4 separate regions of the Homo sapiens genome follow, and all the other regions are linked to region 4. Evidence: promoter capture Hi-C in 16 types of primary human blood cells and fetal thymus (Javierre and others, 2016). All regions are on one chromosome and are shown on one strand. The core of a region is centred on a gene start or on the middle of the fragment in contact, and the rest is flanking DNA. Distances in the headings are between cores, read along the strand shown. Region 1 has its middle 99 kb from the start of ATL2. Region 2 holds the start of ARHGEF33 (Rho guanine nucleotide exchange factor 33). Region 3 overlaps HNRNPLL (heterogeneous nuclear ribonucleoprotein L like). Region 4 holds the start of EIF2AK2 (eukaryotic translation initiation factor 2 alpha kinase 2).

What was found. Contacts are between HindIII fragments. The CHiCAGO score rates a contact against its expected background, and 5 or more counts as called.
Region 1: a contact is called between a fragment that was not itself captured here and the fragment with the promoter of EIF2AK2 in region 4, in 1 of 17 cell types (total B cells). The highest score is 5.3, in total B cells.
Region 2: a contact is called between the fragment with the promoter of ARHGEF33 here and the fragment with the promoter of EIF2AK2 in region 4, in 1 of 17 cell types (monocytes). The highest score is 6.5, in monocytes.
Region 3: a fragment that was not itself captured here is called in contact with the fragment with the promoter of EIF2AK2 in region 4 in 1 of 17 cell types (total CD8 T cells); the score reaches 5.1 in total CD8 T cells.

The regions. Positions count from the first base shown.
Region 1 is chr2:38,277,192-38,279,960 of GRCh38, reverse strand. No RefSeq gene overlaps it. Among named protein-coding and RNA genes, the nearest start is that of ATL2, 99 kb to the left of the region's middle. RefSeq lists enhancers at 943-1,926, 1,927-2,769. The HindIII fragment of the contact is 2,705 bases long and covers 93-2,769 here.
Region 2 is chr2:38,888,518-38,891,217 of GRCh38, reverse strand. ARHGEF33 (Rho guanine nucleotide exchange factor 33) reads right to left here and starts at 1,343. Exons shown (of 18, transcript NM_001145451.5): 1 at 1,232-1,343. The HindIII fragment of the contact is 7,511 bases long and covers 1-2,700 here.
Region 3 is chr2:38,573,171-38,575,870 of GRCh38, reverse strand. HNRNPLL (heterogeneous nuclear ribonucleoprotein L like) reads left to right here. Exons shown (of 13, transcript NM_138394.4): 8 at 2,444-2,661. Among named protein-coding and RNA genes, the nearest start is that of HNRNPLL, 28 kb to the left of the region's middle. The HindIII fragment of the contact is 1,725 bases long and covers 478-2,202 here.
Region 4 is chr2:37,155,541-37,158,240 of GRCh38, reverse strand. EIF2AK2 (eukaryotic translation initiation factor 2 alpha kinase 2) reads left to right here and starts at 1,261. Exons shown (of 17, transcript NM_001135651.3): 1 at 1,261-1,333. RefSeq lists silencers at 962-1,151, 1,352-1,471 and an enhancer at 1,202-1,331. The HindIII fragment of the contact is 2,417 bases long and covers 1-2,091 here.

The DNA of each region.
Region 1 (2,769 bases), core at 196-2,695, 1.1 Mb before region 4:
CCCAATCTAGCATGATCTATCATCCACAGAATCCATTCTCACGAATAGTATTACTCAGGTTTTCTGAGTAAATAAGCAAAATTTGAAAAGCTTTTTTTTTTTTTTGGTTTTGGTATGTGTTTTCTCTAGGGTTCGACTTTGTAATTGGCCTCATGGGATAAATGGATATAATTATAGGTTTAGGTCCAGTAGAAATGACATGAGGAAAATTAGCATATCATTAAGGTAGCTATTACAGAGTCTTTAAGCAAGGTGGGGCTGGGTGCGGTGCCTCCTGCCTGGATTCCCAGCACTTTGGGAGGCCGAGGTGGGCGGATCACTTGAGGCCAAGAGTTTGAAACCAACCTGGCCACTGCACCCCAGCCTGGGCGACAGAGAGAGGCCCTGTCTCAAAAAAAAAAGAAAAAAAAAAGCAAGGTGGGATCAACTTTATCAAACAGAAGAAAAGCTGCTTCTCTCTCCAGAGCATCTCAGGGCATGCTCAGTGCTCCATCTGTCTCTACTCATTCACTTCCCCCAGTGTGAAATGCTCACGTTCTGTGTAGGTGATTCATATCTATGTCTCCCAAGGCTCAGCTTCTTCATGCCTGAGAGGTCAGGCCCATTTGATATTTCCCTTGTGTGGAGTCCTCTAGCCATTGTCTATGTCACATCCGTTGCTACTTACCTATATTCCCTTTAGTATTGCCCCACACATGCAAATTGTGTTGACTCCTCAGGTAAGCCTAGGCTGCTCCAACGAAGGTGCATAGATAGGGCCAGGCAACCCTCATCTCATTGTGCCTTGCTTTATTGTTCTTTGCATATATCACGCTTTTTTTTAAAATGGAAAATTTGTGGCAACCCCGCCTCAAGCAAGTCTATTGGTATCATGCTTCCAACAACATGTGCTCAGTCTGTGCCTCTGTTTCATTTTGGTAATTCTTGCAGTATTTCAAACATCTTCTTTATTATTATATCAGTTATGATCATCTCTGGTCAGTGATATTTGATGTTACTATTGTAATTGGGGCACTACAAACTGTGCCCAAAGAAGATGACAAACTTAATTGATACATGTTGTGTGTGTTCCGAATGTTCCAACCACTGGCCTTCCCCCATCACTCTCCCTCTCCTCAGGCTTCCCTTTTCCCTGAGACACAACAACATTGAAATTAGGCCAATTAATAACTCTACGATGACCTCTAAGTGTTCAAGTGATGAAGGGGTGGCCTGCCCCTCCACACCTGTGGGTGCTTCTTGTCAGGTGGACGAGAGACTTGAGAAAAGAAAGAGACACAGAGACAAAGTATAGAGAAAGAAAAGTGGGTCGAGGGGACCGGCGCTCAGCATACGGAGGACCCACACCAGCACCAGTCTGTGAGTTCCCTTAGTATTTATTGATCATTATCGGGCGTTTCTCGGAGAAGGGGATGTCGCAGGACAATAGGGTAATAGTGGAGAGAGGGTCAGCAGGAAAACATGTGAACACATATCTCTGCATCATAAACAAGGTAAAGAAAAAAGTGCTGTGCTTTTGATGTGCGTATACATAAACATCTCAATGCCTTAAAGAGCAGTTTTGCTGCCAGCATGTCCCACCTCCAGCCTTAAGGCGGTTTTCTCGTATCTCAGTAGATGGAATATACAATCGGGTTTTACACCAAGACATTCCATTGCCCAGGGATGAGCAGGAGACAGATGCCTTCCCCTTATCTCAACTGCAAAGAGGCCTTCCTCTTTTACTAATCCTCCTCAGCACAGACCCTTTATGGGTGTCGGGTGTCGGGCTGGGGGACGGTCAGGTCTTTCCCTTCTCATGAGGCCATATTTCAGACTATCGCACGGGGAGAAACCTTGGACAATACCTGGTTTTCCTAGGCAGAGGTCCCTGCGGCCTTCTGCAGTGTATTGTGTCCCTGGGTACTTGAGAATAGGGAGTGGTGATGACTTTTAACAAGCATGCTGCCTTCAAGCATTTGTTTAACAAAGCACATCCCGCAGAGCCCTTAATCCATTAAACCTTGAGTTGACACAGCACATATTTCTGTGAGCACAGGGTTGGGAGTAGGGTTACAGATTAACAGCATCTCAAGGCAGAAGAATTTTTCTTAGTACTGAACAAAATGGAGTCTCTTAGGTCGACTTCTTTCTACATAGACACAGTAACAGTCTGATCTCTCTTTCTTTTCCCCACAAAGTGAGAGGAAGTGTCACATGTCTCTCACTTTAAATCACAAGCTACACATGATTAAGCCTAGTGAGGAAGGCATGTTGAAAGCTAAGATATGTCAAAAAGTAGGTCTCTTGCACCAGTTAGCCAAGTTGTGAATGCAAAGGAAAAAGTTGTTGAAGGAAAGAAAAAGTGCTACTCTAGTGAAGATACAAATGATAAGAAAGCAAAACAGCCTTACTGCTGATTCGAAGAAAGTTTGAGTAGTCTCGATAGAAGATTAAACCAGTCACAACATTTTCTTAAGCCAAAGCCTAATCCAGAGCAAGGCCCCAACTCTCTTCAATTCTGTGAAAGCTAAGAGGTGAAGAAGCTGTAGAAGAAAAGTTTGAAGCTAGCAGAAGTTGGTTGATGATATTTAAGGAAAGAAGCCATCTCTATTACATAACGTAAAATCAAGGTGATGCAGTAAGTGCTAAAGTAGAAGTGGCAACAGGTTATCCAAGAGATCTAGGAAAGATCACTGATGAAGGTGGCTACACTAAATGACAGATTTTCAGTGTAGATGAGATAGTCTTATATTGGAAGAAGATGCCATCTAGGACTTTCATAGCTAG
Region 2 (2,700 bases), core at 94-2,593, 1.7 Mb before region 4:
TCACACCTGTAATCCCAGCACTTTGGGAGGCTGAAGTGGGAGGACTGCTTGAGATCAGGAGTTCAAGACCAACCTGAGCAACATGACGAAACCCCATCTCTACAAAAAATACAAAAATTAGCCGGGTGTGGTGGTGTGCACCTGTGGTCTCAGTTACCTGTGGGGGCTGAGGTGGGAGGATTGCTTGAGCCCAGGTGACAAAGTGAGACCTTGTCTAAAAAAAGAAAAGAAAAAAGAAAAAAAAAAAAACCAATAGTATGGTCATCTTGTTTCAAAAGCCTCTGAGTTTTCAAATGAGTTTAGATTGCATTTCCAGAGCCCATGGTTATGAAAAATGTAGACATTAATTAATTCAGTTTGTGAAAAATGTTTAGAATAAATGTGCATCAAAAACTTTTTTCTCTAGGATACATTTCTGATCATTATGTTGAATCCTTCAGAAGTAGCCTTCAATGAAATAGCTATTCCATTTACAGCAATATGATTTTGTATTAAAAGGGGCTATTAAAAATATAAAAGGGTGATATAGAGATTTCTACATATTCAGAATACTATTTCAGCATATAAAAACTCACATAATTCCAATACTAATTATAATAGAACGCTATTCTCACTTAAGACAATGTTTAAGTGAAACTCAGTTCTTCTCATTACACACCAAAGCCCCATGAAGTGTTTAGAATTAGGTTTCACCAATAAAGCCCCCATGTAATTAATCAGTACACATTTTCAATCAGGATATGTTTTTTGTTCTGTACATAGGGGAGTGAATGCTGAAGATTCCCCTATTCTTTTTCTGTGTTAGAAAGGAATAAACCAATCTCCCTCCATCCCTAATCTTTTTCATTCTTTAATTATTCTTAATCCCAAAGAGGCATGTCCATGTCAGATTTACGCTGTCTAGCATCCTTTCTTTAAGACTGCTCTCAAAATTTAACTCATCTTCAACTATATTTATTAATATGCAGAACAACTTCAGTCTCCAGTTTATCGATAACCTGCAAAGCGCAGTTAAGACATAATATAAAAATTAAGCAAGGAAATAAATGTTTTACAAATTGTTATAACTCTTAAATAAAAGTTATTTCTTTGAATGCCTACCTCAAATAAATGTTAGCATATATTGGATTTAAATTAGTACACCACGTGGTAAGGATTGATGGGTTTTCATCTCTTATAAAATTGTTTCCCCTTTCAGTGCCCCTTAAAGCATATAAAAGCGCATACTTACCCCATGTTGCCTGCGGTGGTTATATCATCCTCAGATCAAGGCTTATCTGGGTTCTGAATTAACTTAAAGGTTATAAAAAGAAGCAGTAGAGAGGCTTGACTTCCCCTGAAACGAGACCGTAGTATGCTAACCAGGCTTTTAAATGAGGAAAACTAGTGTCTCTTCTAATTATATAAGCTCCAGGTCAAATTCTAGCATCAACTAATCAAATAACTGAACTGCATTTAGTTTCAATGAGTAAAAAGGAAGAAACCCATTTAGGAGGAATATCTTTGGTATACTAGAAAATTGAAAAGTTGTACTTTGAAAAGTTATTAACATAGCAATACAAGTTAAATATTTTAAGAGTAAAATATATATCTTGCTGCCTTAAATAAATTGAAAAAAATTAGGGAAAATTTATTTTGCAGCAAAGCAGATACTTTTCTATATTTTCCAGAAGTTTTTGAATTTAAATTATATGTCCTGGTCCCTGAAAACATCTTCTCACCTTATCTTAACTTGTCCAGTATTTGTCTCTTCATGAATTTCCATATAATAATAATATTTAATTCTAAAGCCATGCCAGCTAATGTTTAGCAACATATACAAAAATGTCCAATTCTTAAAATGTGTCTTTGAAAACTTACAAATAGGGTCTTTCAAAATTAGCCATAAAGCTATTATTATGAGAAACTAACAAAAATGCCATTTTTATTTTAACATTTTAGAAGACATTGTAACCCAAATTTGTGCCAGTACAGCAAAAAATAAAAATATACATCTTTTGGCAATAACATATTGAGAAATACAAATATTCACAAGATTTTGAATAGAGAAATATGACAAAGAAGTTATCTATTGTGTACACTATTTTTTGTCAGTTTTAGAATATAGAGTTTCAGCAAAAACATTCAGGTCTTTATTGTAATTTTTTAAATGTAGTTGACATATACTGCTCTGGTAATTTTTAAATTATCTTATGTAAAAAGTAAAGAAGTTTTCTGGACATAGAATATATGACAACACACAGATCTACTTTTTAAGAAATTGAGACATAATTTACACATCATACATAAAATTTGTCCCTGTTAAATGAACAATTCAGTGGTTTTTAGTACATTTTCAAGACTGTGCAACCATCACCACTGTCTAATTCTAGAAACCTCATGCCTCCCAATTTCTTCCTCCCCTGGCAACCACTAATCTATTTTCTGTCCCTAAGGATTTGCCTATTCAGAGCATTTCACATAAATGGAATCATATAATATGTGGCCGTTTGTGACTGGTTCCTTTCACTTAGTACAATGTTTGTTTGTTTGTTGTTTTTGAGATGAAGTTTTGCTCTGTCACCCATCCTGGAGTGCAGTGGCATGATCTTGGTTCACTGCAACCTCTGCCTCCTGGGCTCAAGCAGTCCTCCCAAGTAGCTGGGACTATAGGCATGTGCCACCACACCTGGCTAATTTTTGTATTTTTTGTAGAGATGG
Region 3 (2,700 bases), core at 91-2,590, 1.4 Mb before region 4:
AGAGAAGTAAGATGAGTAATAGGGGAAAAAGCAAAGATGGGGGATGTGTGCTAGTGATATTGAGCCTTTTTACAAATATTGCAAATCACAAATGTATCCCTTCAGATCAGCGCTTCAGCAAAACAGGTTTACTTGCATTTTGGGATCACCTTATAGATGACCTTTCCTTTTCCTATGTGACGACTATAAGAAAGGGAATAGAAAGAGTTAATTATGGTTCAGGACCCATAGATTCCATCAGATTAAGTTTATTCATTGGTTTATTATAGCAGTATGAAATCTATGTGAATCATCACAATTCTTTACCTCTTTTAATTTGGGAAGCCCAGACTTAATGATATGAACTGGTAGAAGCTTTCATAGTTGAACCATGGCAGAAATTGATACATAGATTTATTTGCTGTAAGCTCAAGAAGAGTTTGTGTATTAATTTGTAGCATCTTTGGATATGGTTTGTAGACGAAAGATTTTAAAGCTTGAAAGATGAAAAATGCCTTCAAGATGTTAATATACCATTTATGTAGCATTTTTCCATGTCAGTTTTTTAAATATTTGAAGCATTAGTTTTTTAAACACCCAGACTTTCTATTATCAATTTAGTATAGAAAACTTTTAAAAGACGTCTGATTTTTCTTATCTTAAATAATATAGGTAATACTTTAAGTAGTATAGATAAGATAATTTAATAATGATGGCTCAAAGTCATAATTATAAACATCAGTTATTCTTGTGGACTGATTTTGGTTGTTACTTAGGGCAGTAGATCTCAGAGGTTTTGGACTTTAGCCACTATACATAGAGTAAAAGTTTCCACTGCCTGTCTACCATGTGTCTTTCTACTTCCATGAAAAAGAAAATTTAGTGTGATGATAGTGAAATGTCATTACTGTACAAGCAAATGGTAGGTGGCGGGGAGGCAGTATATTATGTATATGTACTTTTGCAATAGGAATAAGAATAATTGATATTTGAATCTTGGTGTGTGTATGAGAGTCTAAATTAGAGGCTAAAATAATTACTAAACAGCCTAAAAACTAATTACTAAACAGTCGCTCATATGGATTGTTTTGTTAAACTACCAATTGCCAATAAAAGGAGTAGTTGAAATCCATGACCAATTTAAGGAGACACTGATGATACATTGATAAAGTATTCCTCCCTAAAATTGCAGAAATTCACACCGTGTTTGTGTGTGCTTGGTGGTGGTGTTACTGTGTTGTTATGAATGGCAGCTGTTAGAATACCAAAAATTGGAGTCCACCATAAGCTCTAATAGTATGTTATGAATACCAAAATTTAGTAGTTCTTAGTAACTCACTTAGTAGATAGATGACAGTTGTCCCTTAGTCCTATATACAAGTGCAACTCAGTGGCATTACATACTCTTCTTGAGAAATAGAGAAAGGACTTGGGTTTTTGGATTGGTTTTGCACATCAGGGGGACCTTTGCATGTACCCTAGATGTTGCTTCTGTTATTATTAGGAGCATCTAAGATGTGTAGGGTTTCTGTTTCTAAGCTGCATGTCTCCATCTTAGTTGCTGCTTTTGAGTTCCTCTGCCTTTCTTCTTATTGCTGTAAAATGTGCCCTGTGTCTACTTTGAGTGTCAGTTTCTCCACCCTCATTTCTTTTCATTCTACACTCTAGCTTTATTTTTTGTTAGATCTGTTGTGGATGGGAAAAACAGATAAAGTTGTTTAAAGCTACTCTAAAGTTAGCAAGTTGATTCTTAATGAGGATTCTCAATGTAAGAGACATAGATTTGAGTGTGTTTTTCTGCTGAAATAGTTTTAGATACTCAGGCATTATTTCCTTCTGGGTTCTTGATACTGTTTCAAAAAAATGGAAGTTGTAGAGTAATAAGACACCTGTGTGTAGTTGAGTTATTAACTAAATCTAGGGTTTTAGTTTCCTAAATTAGAATTAGGGGAATAAGATACCAACCTGAAAGTACATAGTAAAATATATTCAAGGAAACAACTTTTCAGTGGAACTGAAGAGGTTCTTTTTGTTATATCTGTGTAGAGATAGCTTCCCAGATTTCACTGTACATGTAATATTATTACTCCTCCAAAAGACATTGGCAGGAGGTTTATTTTTTAAATTTGAGGTATAATTTATATACAGTAGCCCCAGACTTTACATTCATTTTCTTAACCCCCCATAGTCTTGTTAAACTATAATTTTTTAAAAATGTAAGCTTATAGCCTGGTGTATGCAGGTATAGGTCAATATATATTGTATCTGGTGCAAATGAATACAGATTTTATTAATTTTCCTCAGGTTATACTGAAATATTCATACATTTGAGTTTTCTTTGTACATCAAACTAGCTAATATTAAGAGTTTATTTTTTGTGTGTGGTGCAGTATATCTACTAAAGTATTTACAAACAACTATGTGTATATGTTAACTAATTTATTTATTTTGATCATTTTTATAGGATCCCATGGTCCATTATTGCCTTTACCAAGTCGTTACAGAATGGGCTCTCGAGATACACCTGAACTTGTTGCTTATCCATTACCACAGGCTTCTTCCTCTTACATGCATGGAGGAAATCCCTCTGGTTCAGTTGTAATGGTTAGTGGATTACATCAACTAAAAATGAATTGTTCAAGAGTCTTCAACCTGTTCTGCTTATATGGAAATATTGAGAAGGTAAGTTTCTCTTTATATTGGTTTCTTTTGCTAGGATAT
Region 4 (2,700 bases), core at 12-2,511:
GGCTGGAGAGGATGCCTGCCTAGGTGTAATTTTTTTTTTTTTTTTTTGAATTGGAGTCCCACTCTGTCACCCAGGCTGGAGTGTAGTGGCATGATCTCAGCTCACTACAATCTCTGCCTCCCAGGTTCAAGCAATTCTCCCTGCCTCAGCCTCTGGAGTAGCTGGGATTACAGGTGCCTGCCACCACGCCCAGCTAATTTTTGTGTTTTTTAGTAGAGACGGGGTTTTGCCATGTTGGCCAGGCTGGTCCTGAACTCCTGACCTCAGGTGATCCGCCCGTCTCAGCCTCCCAAATTTCTGGGATTACAGGCATGAGCCACCGCGCCGGCCTAGGCATAATATTTAATGTATATTTGAGGTCTGTCTTTGGACCACCTTCCTCTCTTATCCCAGCTAAGATACTGAGAGTACAAACTCCTGGTTATAATTCTAACTCCGCTGCTTACTACCTGTGTTAATCCAAATTCTCTGTGCCTCAATACTCATTAGTCACTGTGCCAATGAACTCTGGAACTCTGTGTGACTCTGGGAGTGTGTCGCAGTCCATCAGGTGAGTAGAATTTCTATAAATCGAGGACTACTGGTGTTGGACTATGGTAGGAAGCTCCCTGGGGTACTGTAGGAAGCAGGTGTCTCTATTTAGCAGCAGGACTGGCCCACAGGTGCTTTTACAGCGGCTGGCAAGTGTCTGCTCATGAATGAATGGATGGGTGGGAGCGGAGTGAAGGAGATTACGCCCCCAGGCCTCTGATCCCCAGGCTTGTAAAGGTGAGGGGGCCGCGGTGTGGCAAGAGGGAAAGAGTGCTTTGGTGTTTACAGGCCCCGACTTGAACTGAATCCTGGCTTTGCCACTTACGAGCGGCAGGACCCCTGGGTGAGTTCATTTACTCAGTTTCCTCTATTGTAGAATGGAGCTGGTAAGATCCATCTTCCCAACCCCACCCCAAATATTTGTGTTGAGAGTAAGTGGAACCCTTGATTCGAGAACCTAGTGCGGCCAGCGGACTAGGCCAGCGGAGAACCCTAGGAGCCCCGGGGGCGGGGGATGGGGGTGCAGGGTCCTGGCCGTGCAGGGGCAGCACGTGGGTGCCAAGCCCGCCTGCCGGTGCCAAGCCCGCCCGCCGGTGCCAAGCCCGCCCGCCAGTGCCTCTCGCGCGCACTCTGGATCCAGCGCCAATTTACCCCAATCCCGTAGCAGACGAGGGCTTGTGCGAGAGGGGGCCGGGCGGCTGCAGGGAAGGCGGAGTCCAAGGGGAAAACGAAACTGAGAACCAGCTCTCCCGAAGCCGCGGGTCTCCGGCCGGCGGCGGCGGCGGCGGCGGCGGCGGCGCAGGTGAGCAGGGCAGGGGGCAGCCGAGGGAGCGCGGGGAGCGGGGGCCGGGGGGCCACGTACGAGGGGCTGCAGGCCCAGCCGGGGCGGGACTCGCCAATCCTGCGTCCCCAGCTCAGGACGCGGACGCTGATCCGAAGCCCCTGGCCCCGGCTGGGTCAGCACTGGGAGAGCAGGCCCAGGTCCGCAGCCCGGGTGTGGGGCCCTCCCCAAATCCAGGGAAAGGATCGTGGAGCGGGGTGGGGACTGAAAGCCATTTCCTTCCCGTGAAGAATTTTTATCAGTGCAAGTAACAAATATTTCCCAGGCAGCAGTTGTGGGGCGGGGTCTAGTGGAAGACGAATAGGCCTAGTGGCTTGACACATGGAAAATACGGAGGCCTGAAATACTCATAGACTGGCTGAACAATCTTTGGCTAAAAATCTCTTCCGTGGAGAGTTGCAGTAGTTTCCCAATTGCCTGGCCGCAGTTCCTGTTCCCACTCCGTATCCTCACCCCTGAACCTCCACCCCCTACCTCTTCTCCACACCTCAGCATCTGGAATGTTCCTTTAAGTAAGAACCAGACTCTCCCCTGCTCCGACCTTCCCCGTAGCTTTCCTGTCTCATCAGAATCCTATAAACATTTATTAAGGCTCACAGGCAAGGCCCCTCGCACCCCCTACTCCGGCCACGCTGGCTTCCTTGCTGTTCCTGGTGCACAGCCAAGCATCCTCCAGCCTCTAGGCCTTTGCACTGCTTGTTTCTTCTTTCTGGAAAGCTTCTTCCCCAGATAACTGCATGGGGAAATCCCTCCCTTATCCTGCACTGCTTCCCATGCCAGCTTATCAGAGCAGCCTTCCTCAAACAACCTGCCTATACAAGAAACCCCGCTCTGCCCTTGCTGTTCCCCCTTCCACTACTTCGGTTGTCAACATAGTAGTTATCACCTGGTGACATTTTCTTTCTTTTCTTTTCTTTTTTTTTTTTTTTGAGACAGATTCTCACTCTGTCGCCAGGCTGGAATGCAGTGGCACGATCTGGGCTCACTGCAACCTCTGCCTCTCAGGTTCAAGCGATTTTCCTTCCTCAGCCTCCCAGGTAGCTGGGACTACAGGTGCCCGCCAGCACAGCCAACTAATTTTTTTATTTTTAGTAGAGACAGGGTTTCACCGTGTTGGCCAGGCTGTATGTAGTCTGCTGGAAAGGAAGTGGAGGCATAGCCAAAATAATTTCTGGGCATTAGTAAGATGGACAAATATTATTTTTTAGTGATTATGATGGAGGTTTCTTCCAGATGAGTGAATAAGATGTAGAATCTGCTCCCCAAAGAGCTCACTAATTAGTTTAAAAAGCAGTCAGGGCTGTGTTGAAGGTTGGGCAAGGTGGAGT